Linked DNA regions of Homo sapiens: all the other regions are linked to region 1. Evidence: promoter capture Hi-C in 16 types of primary human blood cells and fetal thymus (Javierre and others, 2016). All regions are on one chromosome and are shown on one strand. Each heading gives the region's core, a stretch centred on a gene start or on the middle of the fragment in contact. The rest is flanking DNA. Distances are from core to core; before and after follow the strand shown.

Region 1 (3,907 bases), core at 541-3,040:
AATGGCCTGTTGCATCTCTTCCTGTCCGTGGAGTCCATGAAATAGAAAACTCTCATAGTTGGACTGGGCCAGGAAAGATAAGGTCAAGGCCACCCAACGCTTCCACGGCAGCTCACAGCAACCAGATATTTGTCCCAGTGATGCACGGTGCCTCCTGGCCCTTGCCATGGAATTCAGTACAGTCAGCACGTGTGGAGCCTCTATGTGGCAGGACACAGGATAGCTACTTGCACCTCCTGACTGAGCCCAGGGCACTGACCACCTTTCATCCACCTCCCCATGAGCAGGGTACAGCGTGAGCTACTGTTACCATGGGCGCGGTTGCTGCCTTCCACCTTCTCCTGCTCAGTACAAAGTGGGTCCTTGGCAAAGGTTTTGTTGCAGTGAACAAAATTTGAAAATCTCATATGCCCCTAGAACTGGCTGCTGAGGCTGGATTGCATCCTCTTCCTATCTAACATTGGAAACACAAACCTGATCAAATGCAGTGATCAGACAGCAGTCAGACACTTCTGAGTACAAGCCCCAGCTCCTCCACCTGGGAGCTGCATGGCTTTGGGAAGAAACTTAACCCTAAGTCCAGCCTCCAGTTTTTAATCTGTGCAATGGGAATTATAATACTGACTTCACAGTGCTACCAGGATTAAAAGTTTATGTATATGAAGCACCTGGCAAGGTTGGCCCACAAAAAGGGTTCCATTTAGCAAGGGTGGGCCAGGTGCAGTGGTTCATGCCTGTAATCCCAGCACTTTGGGAGGCTGAGGTGGGAGGATCCCTTCGTACAGGAGTTCAGGACCAGCCTGGGCAACACAGTGAGACCCTCGTCTTTGAAAAAAATAAAAAATTAGCCAGGCATGGTAGTGCATGCCTGTAGTAGTCCCAGCTACTTGGGAGGCTGAGGTGGAAGTATCTCTTGAGTCCAGGAGGTTGAGGCTGCAGTGAGGTATAATGGTGCCACTGCACTCCAGCCTGGATGAGAGTGAGACCCTGTCTTAAAAATTAAAGGGTCCTCAGGCCAGTCATGGTGACTAACACCTGTAATCCCAACACTTTGGGAGGCTGAGGCAAGAGGATTGCTTGAGCCCAGGAATTTGAGACCAGCCTGAGCAACAGAGTGAGACCCCCATCTCTACAAAAAAAAAATCAGAAAATTAGCCGGTAGTGATTGTTTGCGCCTGTAGTCCCAGCTACTCGGGAGGCTCAGGTGGGAGAACTGATTGGGCCCAAGAAGTCGAGGCTGCAGTAAGCCACGATCGATCGAGCCACTGCACTCCAGCCTGTGCAGCAGAGTGAGACTGTCTCAAAAAAAAAAAAAAAAAGATAAGTAAATATAAAGAAGAAGAGTCATCAAAGCCCCCTGCCAAACGTCCAAGGGCCTGGTCAGTGACCGCCATGTCCCTGACCCCACATGTCCTGTGGGAGCGTGGAGAATTAGCCTGGACCTTGCCTCAGGGGCAATCTCCCCTCTCCAAAGCCGGAACTGCAGGTCCCAGCGTCGTCTTAAGAGGAGAACTGGGCCCCAGAGAACTTTCTCCGAGACTCCCCAAAACTCCAAGCCTGCCCCAGCCGGCCACAAGGCCCAAACGCCCCGCCCGGCTCTCCGGTCCCTGGGACCGCCCTGCTCCCTCCTCCACGGCGCGCGAGGCTCTTACTCTGCCGCCCGGGCGAGCGCGACCCTACCCTCGGCGGGTATCCTGCGGGTGACGAACACCTTCATGAGTCGCACCGGTCTCATCCGCAGTGCAGCCGCCGACCCGGACCTGGCAGTACAGAAGCTGGCCCGGGAATGTAGCTGGGCCGGGGCGGGGCCAGGCTGGAGTGGGCGGGAGAGACGTCGCGCGCGGCGTGCGCAGGGGGTGTGGCTTCGCGAGAGGGAGCGCCGGGTTGCGGCTGAGCGGTGACTGTGCGTGCTCGGGGAGTGACAGTAACAGTGACCCTACACAGTGTCCTTGTGTGTGTGTGGGGGGGTGCGCCTCGTGCCACTGGGGAATCAGGGCCCCGGGGGAGAGGGGGCAGTATCCCGTCCAAGGCCTCATGGGAGCCCTGCTTTTTCTACACGCTCAGGGTCCTGTTTCCACAGGCTCAGGCCTTAAGAGACTGAAAGCCCCCACTTTTTCTGTCTCTTGGGTTGGCCCAGGGTAGAAACCCAGGTTCCAGGCTGTGAGGAAGTCCAGGACACACAGAGAGGTCACGTGTAGGTGTTCAGGCCAACAGCACAGCCAGGGGCCCGGCTCACAGCCACCGTCAATGACCAGAGGTATGAGTGAGGAAGCCTTCGGGTGACTCCAGGCCAACTCCCACCTGACTACAGCTAAAACTGCAAGAAAGAGCCTTTAGGAGAATCACTGGCTGAGCCCAGTCAACCCCGGAACCATAAGAGATGATAATGCACTGACTGCTGTTGCTCTAAGCCGTTCAATTTTGGAGTAATTCTTTATGCAGCAATAAATAAGTGATACGCTATGTGTGCGAAAGCCAGAAGCCATAAGAGTACAACTAATTCTCCATTGAAAAATTAACCGTACCATCCTGAATGCATCTGATCTTGGAAACTAAGCCTGGTTAGGGCTTGTATGGGAGACTGCCTGGAAATACCAGGTGCCTGGAAATACCAGGCTTATGTTTATCTTAAAAAAAAAAAATTAACAAAATCATAAGACAACAAACCGGGAAAAATACCATATATTTGCAACTCATTTTATAGACAAGGGGTTGATTTACTTATTGCACAAATAGTTCCTAAGACAAAGATGCCCAGCTTATCTGAATAAGCAAAGGATATCAATGGACAGTTTATAGAAAAGAAAATGGCCTTTAAATGTATGGCTGGGCGCGGTGGCTCATGCCTGTAATCCCAGCACTTTCGGAGGCCGAGGCAGGCGGATCACTTGAGGTCAGAAGTTTGAGACCAGCCTGGCCAACATGGTGAAACTCTGTCTGTACTGAATATACAAACATTAGGTGGGCATGGTGGCACATGCCTGTAATTCCAGCTACTCAGGAGGCTGAGGCAGGAGAATTGCTCATGAGTCCAGGAGATGGAGGTTGCAGTGAGCCGAGATCCCATCACTACACTCCAGCCTGGGTGACAGAGTGAGACTCCATCTAAAACAAAAAAAAACAAAACAAACAAAAAAAAAAAACAAAAGATGAAAAGTGCTCAACTTGACTCACAAAAGAACTGCATATTAAAATTACAGCAAGATACCAATGTAAAAAATAATACATTGGGGAACCAGGTGCTTTCATACGTTGCTGGTAGGAGTGTAAATCAGCAACTTCAATAAGAAAGTTTGGCAGTAGCTATCAAAGTTTAGACTGCACATCTTTTTTGACCCAGAAATTTTGCTTTTAGGAATTTACCTTACAGACGCGTTCACACATGTGCAAAATGCCATCTGCCAAAGGCTCTTCATTGTGGCATTGTTGGAATAGTAAAATATGGGAAACAACCTAAAGGTCCACTCATAGGGGACTGTTCATTACGTATGCTTCATTCCCACAGTGAAATACTCTGCATCAATCAAAAGAGTGAGGCAGCTCTGTGCGTACCAGTGTGGAATGATCTCCAAGATGTACTGTCCAGTGAGAAAACAGGGTGATGCAAAGTGCATATGTTACCATTTATAGGAGAAAGTATATGCCTATTCTTTTTTTTTTTTTTTTTTTTTTTTTTTTGAGACAGGATCTCAGTCTGTTATCTAGGCTGGAGGGCAATGGTGCAATCTTGGCTCACTGCAACCTCTACCTCCTGTGCTCCAATGATCCTCCCGCCTCAGCCTCCTGAGCAGCTGGGACCACAGGCATGTGCCACCACACCCAGCTAATGTTTTGTATTTTTTGTAGAGACAGGGTTTCATTATGTTGACCGGGCTTGTCTCGAACACCTGGGCTCAAAGCGATCCAC
Region 2 (3,907 bases), core at 423-2,922, 550 kb after region 1:
CCATCCATCCATCCATTTATCCATCCATCCATCTATTCATCCATCCATCCATCTATTTATCCACCCATCCATCCACTATCGCTTCCTTCCTTTCCTTCTCCCTTCCAACATTTATTGAGCATCTACATGTGCCAGGTAGTAGCCTAAGGATACAAGATCAAAACTCATGACCCTTGTCAGGCAAATCTGTGAGGGGCTATGGGGGCCAGTTGTGGTAACAGGCAAGCCCAGGGACTCTGGGAACACAGAGAAGGGGGATGGAGCCTAGACTGGGGATGTCAGACACAGAGGGGCTTGGAATCTCTGTACAGTAGGGCTGGGTGGGAGGCATGTCTGAGGGTGCTTTTGCAGAGAGTTTTGCTAAGATTGAGAAAACACATCAAAGAATAGGGGCACAGCTAAAGCTTTCCAAGACATCCCTGGTGCTGCCCTTAGGGCAGGGGAGGAATCTAGGAAGAGACAATTTTCAGGTTTATTGTTGAGAGAGAAACATATGTTAGCCAGTGGGAGGTGGAGTGAGGAGGGAGAAGATGAGTGTTTCAGGCAGAGCAGGAACAATGAAGACAAAGGTTCTGAGATGTGCTTTGCTCCTGTACTTACTGCAGTCTTTCCGAAACCCAGCTTTAATCTACTGGGGCTGTCAGAGTTTGACTCCCTTCGGCTTGCTGGGATCTGCAGCCCCTGTCTCCAAGACCCTGACAGCTGTCAGTCTTCATCTGGACCAACCGCTGCCTCCAACCCTGAGGGTCACTCCACCTGGGATACTGCTATCCAGAGAACTTCTGGCAGTGTCCGAAGCCCTCAGGGCAGTGAGAGCCAGTGGAGCTTGGCTTCTGCCTTCCAAAAGGAGAGTGTTCTCAAATGGGGCCAAACCACCCATGCCCGTAAGCTCATTCTACCAACAAGCCCCATGCTTCCCCACCCCCAACCTGCATGGTGCTTTAGAGTTATCAAGGGACACACAGCTGTTAGCCCCAGTTGCCATTTGAAAGCATGTTGTGAGGTTGGAGTGAGCATATCCATCTCGGAGGCAGGCTGACTGGGTTCGGGAGGTGGTGTTGCATTGCCAGGGGGATAGCCAGTCAGGGAGCAGCTGGGCTTGGCGCCTGGAACTTAGGGTCTCTGAGCCTCCGGTGTCCATGGAGACTGAGAGGAAATTGAGACTATCTATGGGCTCTGGGGCCAGGGAAGGTGCTCCCTCAGGGACATAGGTGGCCTTCCTAACTCGAGTTCTTTTATGGCCCAGGAAGAGCTCTTCCTGCTGGGATGCTACGGAGCTCACACTTGGAATTCTGGTATATTCCTTTCTCCCTCCCCATCCTCACCTGTCTGTGTTTGACACATGTTCCTAGACCCAAATTTAAGGCTCTCTCTTACAGGAAGCCCCCCACCGCAGTCCCTCATCTCCCCACTGTGTGCACCCCCCGGGCACTGCCCATGGTCTGCCATAGAGACCCCGTGCGCCCGTCTCCTGGCTGCGTCTGAGGTCAGGGCTGCCCGGAATTCCTCTCAGATCCTGGCCCTGCCTGCAGTAGGTGCTGCCTGCAGTAGGTGCTCAGTAGCTGTGGGTGGGATTTATCTGAATACAGCACATGCCCCTCCCCATCTTGCCCGGTCCAGAGTCCAGGGCAAGTTAGGGTCGGACTGTGTAATTAAACAGGGCTTGAGTGCTACTGGCACGCCCCCAGTCCTTCTTCCAATATTTGCTCTGGCTTCTAGCAGGAAGACGCTGAGACAATGGCCCTTGTTACCCTCTGTTTGAGTTATTTATTTTTTTCACTTTTCCCTCCTTCCCCTCTCGGGGGACTTGCCTCTCGCCCTCATCCCTCATGTTTTCCCTTTCACTTGACTGTCACTCTCATTGTCCTCCCGGGGCCGGGAACGCGGGGTGACAGGCAAGGGGAGCCCAACCAGGCTGGGAGGCTGGAAATATAGTCATTAATGGGACCCGCGAAGCCCAGATGTCCTCCCTGAATGCGGGTAATTTGTTTTTAATGAAAAACCATGCGGTGACCCTGAACAAATGAATTTTCTTTATAAGGAGTCTATGTGCAACGGGCACAAATAAAGGGCCCGAAACAGGGAGACTTAAATCCAGGGCTGAAAGAAAGAAAGAAAGGAAGAGAGAAGGAGTGGAAAAGAGAAAGAGAGATAAAAGAGGGAGGAAGGAAAAATGTGAAATGACAACTGTGTTACCATACCCTTCGCCTGAAGAGCAATCCCAGGCCAAAAATGCCTTGGGCATTGTCCTGCCAGGGCAGGGTTTCTGACCGCTGTGGCCATCGTGGGGTCTTGTTCACAATGCTGCTAAGAAGACGAACCCCCACCTGGACGGAGCTTTGCTATTCATGTGCCCCTTTCATGTATAATTGCAGTGGAGCCTCACGGTAGCCCCTTTTACAGAGGTGAAAACTGAGGCTTAAATGGTTTGCTAGCAAGTGGTTCAGTCTAGATGACAAGGGAAGGATTTTGCCAATTTGGAGTGTGACTCTTAGAAACACTGTGTTACAGCCCAGAAATTGCTTTCATTGTGTGATGCAAAAGAAGGGTGTGGCACGAGCAGGTCTAAGCGGGGACACCAGGTGTATACCGAAGAGTCTTGGGTTGAAGCAGTTTCCCATAGCCCCTACAACTTTGCACTGGACCTTTGTGAATGAATAGCTTTTCCATGGGCACTGCGGGTGTGGGGTTCCTGGGTAGAGAAGAACTCCCCAGGAACGAGCCAGACACATTTGGAAAAACAAATGCAAAGAAATTGGAATCTAGCCTTGGGAAGCAGGAGACCAACCAAGGCCCCCCCCCCACCACCCCATCCAGGACATTTTGTAGGCTGTAGAGCTGGCCACTGGGGGCAGCGGCAAAGACATTGATTCAACAGAGGCCCTAGCCGAGGGCCTTGCCTTTGGCTTTGGAGAAATCTGCTCTGCAGGAGAAGCTTTGAAGGCTGTTAGCCCTGTGTAGATTGGGCTGTGCCTGTGTGGAGCGTGTTGTGTGTTCAACGGAGAGGCCGTTGTGTGTTCTGTAGCTGCTTTTCCGTCCATCACTGATGGACAGGGCTGGACTCAACCTTAGAAATCAACCCAGGGCTGTGCAGATGAGGATGAGGAAAGGACTTGTTCAAAGTCATATGGCAAGTCAGAGGGGGAGCCAGGTGGCCCTCTTTCTGCCCTATTGTCCCCACCCCCCTCAGTTCCTCACCGAAGCAATAAAAAAGAAGCTATTTTGTCTCCTGTCCTTGTGCAGAACTGGTATAAAAAGGACGGTTCCTGGATGCCCTGGCTTCTACAGCAACACAAATCGAGACCCCCACCTTCACCCCAACTTTTGTTGTGCTCTTCCTGAATGCAGATCCTCTCCCAGGCCCTGGGACCTGGCCAGCTACAAAAACATCTTCTCTTAAGTCTCAGGCTTCTGTGCCTCAGTGGATCCAGGCAACGGTGGGCTCCCCAGGTCTGGCCGAGGTTGGTCTGAGACCTGCAGGTACGCCGGGGCACAGCTCCCCTACCCAGAGTCAGGTAGCCAGACACAAAGAAATGATTGTTTTCTGTTCCTGGGTTCAGTTTCCCTCTGGAAGCTGTGACCCAGTTAGAAAGTCAGACAGATAGAAAAATCTGACCACGACCCCAACTGAGGTTCTGAAGTCTTGGCTTCTATTTAGGCCTCTGCCTCGAACGCTCCCTGGTGAGGCCCGGCCCGCCCGCGCTTCTTCAGCCACCAGGAGCAGACCTTCCTAGCCGCTGGTTTCCTCCATAATTGATGATTTATTCCCCACTGACTTCCAAAATGGATTTGAGGCACCTTCCTGACCTTTCAATAACATCAGCCCCAACCTGAAATCCCTGTCATAAAACAGGAGGACTGCCAGTGGTTCCCGGTGGGGCAGGAGTGGATGCAGATCCACCCCACC
Region 3 (3,907 bases), core at 442-2,941, 530 kb after region 1:
TAGATCTTTAGCCAGGGCAATTAGAAGGAGGTCAGTCAGAATTAGTTAAAAGTGGGGATTAGGTAATTTTGGGAAAAGAAATTGAGGGTTACTATTCCTAAGTCAATAACACCACCCAAACTAATGGCTAATAAACCTGTCATTAGGAGCCTGCCAGATCCGCTTTAATGACTGGATACAGCTCATCTGCAATTAGCACATCCATTGTCTGCAGGCAGAGGTAGGCTGTTACATCACCATTCCCACTGCCCTTCCCCTCCGGGTGAAATATTCCCCCTCTGCATCTACCGTCAGCAGCATACCCTCCACTAGTGGCAGGTCTGGACAAAGGGAGACTCCAGAGCAACCCTGTTCAAACTGCCACACATTTCCAACACCAGCTGGAACGAATAAGCCTGGCGGCGTATGCACTACGTGTACACACGCACCGACGTGTGCGTAGCAGGATGAATCCCCGCCCCACGTCCTGGGTATTGAGCTGTTTCTCCCCCTCTCCCTAAGGTGGCACTTGTTCACTGTCATCTGCTTCGGGGTTTGTTGAAAATCTTCAGCTCATGTCATTGTCTTTGGCATTGTTCACCTTTTCCTACAACAGGTGTCAAAATATACTTCAGAAAAAGTTAAAAGCATAACTCTTGTACAAATATAAAGTGAACAATATGTAAAATGAAGTTTTTTTTTGTTTTTTTGGAGATGAAGTTGCGCTCTGTCGCCCAGGCCGGAGTGCAGTGGCGCAATCTCGGCTCACTGCAACCTCCACCTCCCAAGTTCAAGCAATTCTCCTGCCTCAGCCTCCTGAGTAGCTGGGACTACAGGCGTGCACCACCATGCCCAGCTAATTTTTGTATTCTTAGTAGAGATGGGGTTTCGCCATGTTGTACAGGCTGGTCTCAAACTCCTGACCTCAGGTGATCCTCCTGCCTTGGCCTCCCAAAGTTCTGGGATTACAAGTGTGAGCCACTGCGCCCAGCCTAAAATGAAGATTTTATTTCATTTGCAGACTGACCACTCCCATCTCCTTCTGTAAGTGCCTTATGCTTATCCTCCTTTCACTCGGGTTTAATTCAGGGGCTCCAGGAAGTCTGATGCTGTGGGCAAGAGTGTGGAGGCCACAGCGAGCAGGCACTGCCATATCTGTCTCTGTAGGAATTGATACCCACCTTCTTTTCCATCAACATGGGGGTGAAATGATGCCACCGACTTATGGAATGTTACTGTGGAAAAAACCCTCAGAGGCCATCTGTTCCCACTGCTTGAGTATTCAGATAACCAAGGCCCAGAAACCAAGGCCCAGAGAGGGGGTGAAGTTTACCTGAGGTCACACAGCAATCCGTGTTGCCTGGAGTGTGCAGGCTTCCTGGACCTTAGGAGTCCCCAGCAGACAGAGTTGCCAGTTCGCAAAGAGCTCTGCCTTTCCCAGCCAGTTCCCCCATATTCCCTTATAGTTTGGGCCTTGTATGCTAAGATCTCCCTCCTCTGGGCAGGACCTCTTGCCCCAGGGCTGTCAAGGCTGGCAGACCCTCTCGGGCCATCAAGCCATCACCAGGATCCCGCCCCCACCTCTCATCTTGTTCACAATAATTAATGGCTGCTCGATGGCTTGCTTCCTTCTTTCTCTCACTCACACACACAGTCAGGTAGATGGAGGGGGAGTTTGGTTGGTGCCCTATGGTATTCAAAGTGAAGGGTTTTCACACTGTCAGGGTAATGAATTCTGCAAGGGTTTGAAGCGAAGGACTGGGAGGATTTCTGTGTCATGTGTCTGGGAGTGACAACCCCCAGTGGTTAATTACTGCCACACGATGAGAACCGAGCTGGTAGCAAAATGAGATAAGTTCATTATGAGCTAAATTTGAAGTTAATTGGATTCACATTCCCCCCCCCCCCGTTAGTGTACATAGAGAGAGCCTACCTAGAAATGGGCTCTATGAAAAAGAAAAAGAAAAAGTTGCGTCTAAGCAAAAACTGATCAATCAGGCCTGGTTATTTTGTGGAGTTCGTGATGAAGGGCTTTCTGAGACGCTGATGCGAAGAGAAGCATAGTTCCTTCAGAAGAGCAGACCCAATGTCATATGATTAATTTCATCTTGGCAAACGTTTTCTGAGTACCTACTGTGTGCCAGGCCAGTGCAAGGGAAACAGGAATGAGAGCAGTTCTTGATCTCTGGGGACTTCCAGTCTAGAAGCAGGAGAAGGATGGGTGCCCAATGCTGGGGGATTGTGAAGGCATCTGGTGCCAGAACGCCTCCGTTTGGATAAGGGTCCATTTGTGACTAGCTGTGGGAACTTGGGCAGGTGCCTAATCTCGCTGTGTTTTAGTTTCCACATCTGTAAAATGGGGATAACAATAGGGTTCACCTTACAGAGTTTTTGAGGATGAAATGAATCTATATTTACAAAGCAGAGTGAATATTGTTTAGAACACTGCTTAGTGTAGAGCCTTGTCTGGCATACAGTAAATTCTACAAAAATATTAGCTGTTATTGTTATTATTATCAGCCGTGCAACCTTGGGTACATCAACTGCTTGGGAGCCTTCATTTCCTCATTTGTAAAATGGGGATTATAACCGCAACCTTATGGGGTTCTTGTATTGAATGAGGTTAAGACATGGAAGTGCCTGGCCAGGGCCTGGCTTGTGGGAACTCCAAGGAGGCTGGAGCTCTGTGGGTTGACCAGTCACCAAGGGGGCCCAGGTTCAGGGTAAAGGATCATAGACCTCACTTCTCCATGAGAAGAGTAACAAAGAATTTGCAGACATGTTTTAATCCTGTTACAGAGAGTACCATTGTTACACTCCCAATAAATACCCTCTTTTTCCAATTATCAAAGAAAGCCCCATGCTCAGATCGTTGTATTACCTGCCAGAGGTCACACAGCGAGTAAGTGGTGGAGCTAAGATTTGAAGCCAGGCCTGTGTGACTCCAAACTCCACCCCTCCCTGCAAGGCTCAGGGGCCTAGATTTGGCTCTGGAGGCAACGGGGGAGCCTGTGTGAAAGGGAGAGCAGATGTGGGTGGCTTCATGCCCCCTCAAGCCTGCCGCCTGCAGAGCTGCCTGGAGGTCTCCTCCCTGGGGTCAGGTCTGCCCTCTGGATGCCAGGTCTTCCACCAGCGTCAGCCATAGCGTGCCTCTGCCCAGCCTGCCCTCTCCCCAGATGCAGCCTGAGACTTTATATCTTCCCTTCATGTCTTTGCCTGTTGAGCATTTCCCAGCCCCAGCCCTAGGCAATCACGAATCTACCTTTTGTCGGTAGATTTGCCTATCTTGGACATTTGTATGAATATATTCACACAATACATAGTCTTTTGTGACTGGCTTCTTTCACGTAGCATAGTCATTTCAAGTTCATTATGAATGTTGCTACTGTAGTATGTATTGGTATTTCACTCTGTTTTATTGCCAAATATTCCATTGTATGGACATACTACATTTTCGTTATGCATTCATCAATTGATGGATATCTGAGCTGTTTCCACTTTTTGGCTATCATGAATAATGCTGCCACCAACATTTGTGTACAAGTTTTTATGTGGACATACGTTCTTATTTCTCTGGGGTGTACACCTAGGAGTGGGAATTGCTGGGTCACGTGGTAACTCGATGTCTAAGAACTGCCAGACTTTTCCAAAGCAGCTGTACCATTTTACATTCCTACCAGCAGTGTTTGAGGGTTCCGATTTTCCCCATCTTTGCCAATGATTGTGACAATATGTCTTTTTGACTGTGACCTTCCCAGTGGGTATGAAGTGGTGTTTTATTGTGGTTTGGATTTGCATTTCCCTGAGAGCTAATGATGTTGAACATCTTTTCATGTGCTTGTTAGCCATTTCATTTATTCTTCTTTAGACAAATGCCTATTCAGTTGCTTTGCTCATTTTAAAATTGGATTATTTGTCTATTATTGAG

The links. Contacts are between HindIII fragments. The CHiCAGO score rates a contact against its expected background, and 5 or more counts as called.
Region 2: a fragment that was not itself captured here is called in contact with the fragment with the promoter of GRHPR in region 1 in 2 of 17 cell types (naive B cells and endothelial precursors); the score reaches 6.8 in naive B cells.
Region 3: a fragment that was not itself captured here is called in contact with the fragment with the promoter of GRHPR in region 1 in 1 of 17 cell types (total B cells); the score reaches 5.9 in total B cells.

The regions. Positions count from the first base shown.
Region 1 is chr9:37,420,579-37,424,485 of GRCh38, reverse strand. It overlaps GRHPR (glyoxylate and hydroxypyruvate reductase), which reads right to left and starts at 1,790. Exons shown (of 9, transcript NM_012203.2): 1 at 1,653-1,790. The coding sequence starts at 1,735. RefSeq lists enhancers at 1,193-1,818, 1,819-2,444 and a silencer at 1,829-1,978. The HindIII fragment of the contact is 7,938 bases long and covers 1-3,907 here.
Region 2 is chr9:36,865,957-36,869,863 of GRCh38, reverse strand. The region is part of intron 8 of PAX5 (paired box 5); the gene reads left to right. Among named protein-coding and RNA genes, the nearest start is that of MIR4540, 3.6 kb to the right of the region's middle. RefSeq lists an enhancer at 1,233-1,924. The HindIII fragment of the contact is 2,531 bases long and covers 407-2,937 here.
Region 3 is chr9:36,887,922-36,891,828 of GRCh38, reverse strand. All of the region lies in intron 7 of PAX5 (paired box 5), which reads left to right. Among named protein-coding and RNA genes, the nearest start is that of MIR4476, 3.7 kb to the left of the region's middle. The HindIII fragment of the contact is 4,685 bases long and covers 1-3,907 here.